Linked DNA regions of Homo sapiens: region 2 is linked to region 1. Evidence: promoter capture Hi-C in 16 types of primary human blood cells and fetal thymus (Javierre and others, 2016). All regions are on one chromosome and are shown on one strand. Each heading gives the region's core, a stretch centred on a gene start or on the middle of the fragment in contact. The rest is flanking DNA. Distances are from core to core; before and after follow the strand shown.

Region 1 (2,999 bases), core at 148-2,647:
GTGCTTCCTATGTCTTCCGCTTCTTTTGTTTATTGTTTACTAGGTGCTGTGAGGTCTGCTCTTTAATATGCTTTGCCCTTTGTTCTTCTGCCACAGGGTGTGAAGCCATCTATGTTGTTTGCCCTTTGCTCTTGGCTACCTCTAAATAGTCATTTGTAAAAGAAAGAGGAAAATCACATCTTGCCCATCAGCTTTGTGTACATCATTCGAAAATTTTATCTTTAATATACAAAGAAAGTACAATCCTTCTTTGTGTGGTTACAGAGGGGAATGGTCACACTATGCTCTGGAAAGACATCATCTGGAAAACCAATAGGTAATTATTTTAATGTAAATATAGTGAAAAGCATCTTTATGTTTTAGAGTTTTGCTAATGCTTTCAGTGACTGCAACAAATTAACATACCACTTTCTTGCAACAACTCTATTCACTCTTCAGTTTATTTAAATGCCATTAGTTTTAGACTGAAGTTGATCTGTGGAAAATATATGTGTATAATACCAATTCAAAAAAATATATAAATTGTTTTGTTTGTTAAATGTATTGGAAATATTTAAGGCTTAGTTTCCAAGTGAGAAAAGGCAATAAACTTTAACTTTAAAATCAAGAATGTTCTGTGTGTCTATCTTCAAAAATCTAAGATTATTTCCGTTATCTATCTAGCTTTCTATCTTCTGATGAGCATTCAACAACAGCTTTATCTTTTCAATTAGTGACACCGTCTTAAATCACAGCAGCTCTTAGAAACAAAACTGGCACAAATACCCTCGCCTCTCAATGGATTTACATACTATCTTGATGTTGAAAAAAGTTGTAGACATGGAAAACAGCACAGTACAAGGGTGATGCTTATTTTATCTGGGGTTTATTGCATGGGCAGAGGCTGTCATTTTCCCATAGTGTCTTCATTTATTATGCTAATTGACTTTCCAAGCTCAGACTGGAGGGTGTCTGCCCTGTGAACTATTCTCAGTTGGAGGGTTTTAAAAGCAAACCTGTTTTGTGCCTGAATGAAACAAAAAATCAATGTGTTTCTTTTCAAAGAGGGAGGGTCAATACCGTGGTTGTTTTTGTTCCCATCCAGTTATGTAACCGTGGGGACTTGTTTCTTTGCTTTCAGGATTTGTACGAAACACATTAAAGTTAAACAATAGCGGAGGCTTAGGAGTAACCCTCGAGCTGCGCCTTGGAGTGTGTGTCCCTGGGATTGGGAACCTCCTGTGAGTTCCATATCAAGTGCTGCTGTGTGTGTGTGTGTGTGTGTGTGTGCGTGTGTGTGTGTGTGTGCGCGCGCGCGCGTGTGTGTGATTAGCCAGTACGCAGTACTTCCCCAGGGTTGTGTTTCCTTTTTCCTGAGATTTGGCGAAGGGTAAAGGGTCGGAGTCACATGGATACAAAGCTTTTGATTAATGTCCAAGTCACTGCTGTGGCTGCCGAAGCCGCTTCCCCTCCAGCCCCGGCCGTGTGAGGCCAGAGCAGCGGGGCCGGGCGCGCAGGGCCTGGCCGGAGCCCCCACTCCCAGGAGTTTCCTCTGCAGAGCCCCGCGCCCCCCGCGCCGGGATTTCAGCCCGATCCCCTCCTCTCCCTGCGCCCAGCCTCTCCCCAGCATGTAAAGTCTTCTGTCTCTCCTCGGAGTTGGCGGAGGCGGCAACTTTCCATTCTCGCCGCCGGGGGCCGGGCAGCAGCGGGCGCGCGGGTCAGCGCTCAGCACGGCGGGCAGCGCCGCGCTGCGCACCGCCGCCGACCATGAGCGAGGACAGCCGCGGAGACAGCCGCGCCGAGAGCGCCAAGGACCTGGAGAAGCAGCTTCGCCTGCGCGTGTGCGTGCTCAGCGAGCTCCAGAAGACCGAGCGGGACTATGTGGGCACGCTGGAGTTCCTGGTGTCGGTGAGTGTCCCCGGCAGACGCAGGGGGACGTCCGGGCGGCGCGGGGCGCGGGTCCCGGAGTGGCTGCGGGAAGGACGCGCGGCATTGTCTGTGCGGGGACCCGGGACGGGTCGGGGCATCACAGGCGCGGGAATCCACGTGTGGACTCTGCGTTCGCGGGCGCGGTGACCCCCGCGGGGATTTGTTGGTGCCCCGAGACTCACTGAGTTGCGGGGGCCTTGGAGACCTCCAGGTCTGAAAAGTTAGCTCTAGAGAAGAGAGCTCCAGTCCAGGGAATCCCGGCTGCCCTATCTTCCCTCACTTTTCTTTTACCCGCCTCCCCAGTCTGCTCAAGTGCACTGTGTAATTGATTTTCCTTCTTGTTCTTTCCTGGAGACTTTGTTTTAAAGCTTTGGTTTTGTGATTAAAGGTCCAGTCGGCTACATCCAGGTACACTAAGTTAAAAAAAATCCTTGAATGTGCTCGAGCTTGAGTTCGTTACTCAGATAACATGGCAGTGGCCGCTTTAGTTATGGTCTTTGAGACAGAGGATTCTGGTGTAGGGGTACAGAGAGAGCAGCGGGGTGATGATCTCTAGCAGCTGTTGGATATTAAAGCCACATGTGGCGCTCACCCTGTCCTAGTCTTACAATTCCCTCCCCCCCGCCCCCCGCCCCGGCTTAAATCTGTCTTCTGCTCAGTTTCTGGTCCCCTGTTTACATGGCCCATGAGAGTGCTGTAATCAAGCTTCGGGACTTCGTGGAAGTGGGGATGTACTTATATTCCACGTTTCTGCTTGACTCACTGCCATCTGCTTTGAAAACGTCTCATTCATTTTAGGGCCGAAGGGGCAAAACTGAGTGAAAGTAACTGCTGAGATAACACTCAAAAGTTGAATTTTTCCTATTCATTGCTGAAAAGACAAAGAATTTGAGCCTTGGCTTCTTTCCACCCAGATTCCTGGGAGAGCATCATTCAAAGAACCAGGAGCTTTAGTTTTTGTGATCTCATCCAAATCCTTCTCCTTCCAACAACCAATTCCATGCCCCCTTGGTCTGAAGGAAAATATTTCAGGTGCCAAACTTCCTGCTTAGTGTTCTGAAATCTGTCAACTTTCTGCTTATAATCATGAC
Region 2 (2,999 bases), core at 205-2,704, 530 kb after region 1:
CAGAAGAGAAGCTCAGTTTCTGAAAGAACTAATTTTTCCCTTCACTTCCAGGCAGCTCACTCCTACAGCTAGACATTATTGCTACCCTAAGCAATGGTTACTTTGTGTATTAGGCCATTCTTGCATTGCTGTGAAGAAATACCTGAGTCTGAGTAATTTATAAGAAAGGGGGTTTAATTGGCTTATGGTTTTGCAGGCTGTACAGGAAGCATAAAACCAGCATCTGCCTTTGGGGAGGCCTCTGGAGGCTTACAATCATGGCACAAGGCCAAGCAGGAACTAGCAGTCAAATGGCGAAAGCAAAAGCAAGAGCAAGGTTGGGGAAGGTGCTACACATTTTCTATACATTTTCAAAGGACCACATCATTTGAGAACTCACTCACTATCATGAGAGCGGCAACAAAGACATGGTACTGGACCATTCATGAGAAATCCACCCCCATGATCCAGTCACCTCCCACCAGCCCTCACCTCTAACATTGGGGATTACAATTCAACATGAGATTTGGGCAGGACACAAATCCAAACTATATCACCCTGATAGGATATTTCCTTTAAGCTCTAGTTTGACTTTTACAAGGACCATGTGTTCCAGTGCTCATTAAGAGTCCTACCCTCAAGTCCTGGGCTTTTCTTTCTTCCAACATATCTTCGCAACCCACTTCATTTTCTCTTGCATATTTTCTGTTTTCTGAAGATCCCCAGTCTTCATTAACTTAAAAAAGAGTCTCAATTTAAAATATGATACCTTTTAAAAGTTAATAAAATGCCTAAAAGTTGTTAATCTCTTCTCAGGGAATAGCTGTGGATATTCTGCTAGACACTGGGAGAGATATCCTGGCCACTCAGTATAAATGGTTCCCATTAGAGCTTCATGCCTCTGTGAAGCGTTTCATTAAAATTCTTTCATCTGCTTTTAATCTGTATAAGCTTTGATTAAAAATGAAATAAGAAGTTAAAAAAAATGCCCTAGGCAATTTGACATTGATAATAGAAAGCTGAAAGAATTACAGATAATAGAGTGGAGATTTATTTGGATAATTTCTCAGGCAAAGTCATCAAAATATGTAAATTTTAAGAAAATATGATAATAAGTATTTGAACAAAATATGGTCAGACCAAAGAGTTGGCATAATTAAAGGCATAATTCTTTCTCCAAACCAAGTTTTCCATTTAGCTAGTTTGAGTTGTATTCTGGGGTCCATTACTTCTTAGTACTGAAATACATCTTCAAAGCAATGTTTCTCTTCATCTCCATTTTCAACTGCTAAAATTTTCCAGCCCTGAAAAACAGCTCATATGTTTGCTAAAATTGAGAGGAGGTAGCCCATGAGTAATGTGCCAGTTCTGTGTGACACACATTTTGACTATTCACAGGGCTTTTTTACTTACTTGCCAGTTCTTGCTTCTTTCTGGAACAGTGATATATTGCCACTATCTTTATGAATAATGGATTCATAAATATGAGGCCTAAAAGAAACTTAAAGATCAACTGGTAGCTTTCTAAAAGTTAAATGAGAAAACTCGTTTTGTAAGCCCGAGAGCATGATGCAGGAAGTTAAAAAAAAAATTAAGAGATCGGGCCAGGTGCAGTGACTCACCGCTATAATCCCAGCACTTTGGGAGGCCCAGGCAGGCGGATCACGAGGTCAGGAGTTTGAGACCAGCCTGGTCAACATGGTGAAACCCCGTCTCTACTAAAAATACAAAAATTAGCTGGGCATGGTGGCGGGTGCCTGTAATCCCAGCTACTCATGAGGCTGAGGCAGGAGAATCGTTTGAACCCAGGAGGTGGGGGTTGCAGTGAGCCGAGATCCAGCCATTGTACTCCAGCCTAGGAGACAAGGCAAGACTCTGTCTCAAAAAAAAATAAAAAATAAATAAATAAATAAATAAATAAATAAAAATAAATCAAGAGGTTAAGAGAGTTTAAAAAATCCCAAATAATTGAATTATGGATTATTTAATTTCAGATATCTAAGCTTTATGACTTTGGGTGAGAAACAGAATTCTGTTTCATATTATCTATGCTCTCTTAAAATAGACTAAGCTCTTTAAAATTTTATATTTAAGATATTCAGTCTTAATCTTGAATTCATATTGGAAAGGAACTTTTTTTGTAGAATTATATTACATGTAAATATAAGCATTTAAAAGACATGTTTGGATTTTTATAAATTGTAATAATGTATTTTAAATCTATAGAATGTGACATAAGCCATTTAGTATCCCATAAATGTCCTATCTTTTCTTAACATCTGAGTTATTCTAAATGACCATTTGTAATTCTCTATATTTTTTAAGCCCAAAAATTCCACAAATGTATGATTTATGTTAGGTCTTCACAAATGTTTATAATTGCACTCTGAGATCTCTTAGTCTCACATCTTCCCCTTGACTGTGGTGCTGTCATATCTGAGTTCTCCATCACGGTTCACTCAGCAGTGATACAGCCCAGCTCCAATGCCAGCCCTCCTTAAAGCTTTTTCTCCTTTAACTGTTTGAAGGCACTACCTTCATAATACAGCAAGTCCTTGAATAATTGTTAAGCTTTGGTCACCCCAAATCCCTGAAATGGTAGTTAGACTCTCTTTTGATGTGACACATAAAAATTCTTAGTTACCAATGACTTCTACCAAAAAAAGAATTTTATAAAATATTGAAGAATAAGCCCCAAATGTACCTGTGTTTCTAGTGTCATCTACAAGGGGATCTACAATGGTGTCATTTACTGAGATGAAGTTGTGCGTACTTTTTCAGCTTTGTGTATAATTGATTCATTAGGTTAGTGGTGTGGGAGATGATATAAGAACTAATGAAATATCATTTATACCCTCCACATCTATACCCGAGGCAGGCAGGGGATCTGAACCCTGTAACTCACTCTTTCTACTGAGGTTCATTGTCCTGAGGCTGCTTTCAGGTTCTTTCTTCCAACCCAGCTCATTCTTTCTTGTTCTTTGTAGTCTGCTGAACTTCAGCTTCAATTCCTATTCTTA

What was found. Contacts are between HindIII fragments. The CHiCAGO score rates a contact against its expected background, and 5 or more counts as called.
Region 2: a contact is called between a fragment that was not itself captured here and the fragment with the promoter of PREX2 in region 1, in 1 of 17 cell types (M2 macrophages). The highest score is 5.4, in M2 macrophages.

The regions. Positions count from the first base shown.
Region 1 is chr8:67,950,649-67,953,647 of GRCh38, forward strand. It overlaps PREX2 (phosphatidylinositol-3,4,5-trisphosphate dependent Rac exchange factor 2), which reads left to right and starts at 1,398. Exons shown (of 40, transcript NM_024870.4): 1 at 1,398-1,887. The coding sequence starts at 1,747. The HindIII fragment of the contact is 877 bases long and covers 1,398-2,274 here.
Region 2 is chr8:68,483,851-68,486,849 of GRCh38, forward strand. All of the region lies in intron 4 of C8orf34 (chromosome 8 open reading frame 34), which reads left to right. Among named protein-coding and RNA genes, the nearest start is that of C8orf34-AS1, 150 kb to the left of the region's middle. The HindIII fragment of the contact is 1,052 bases long and covers 929-1,980 here.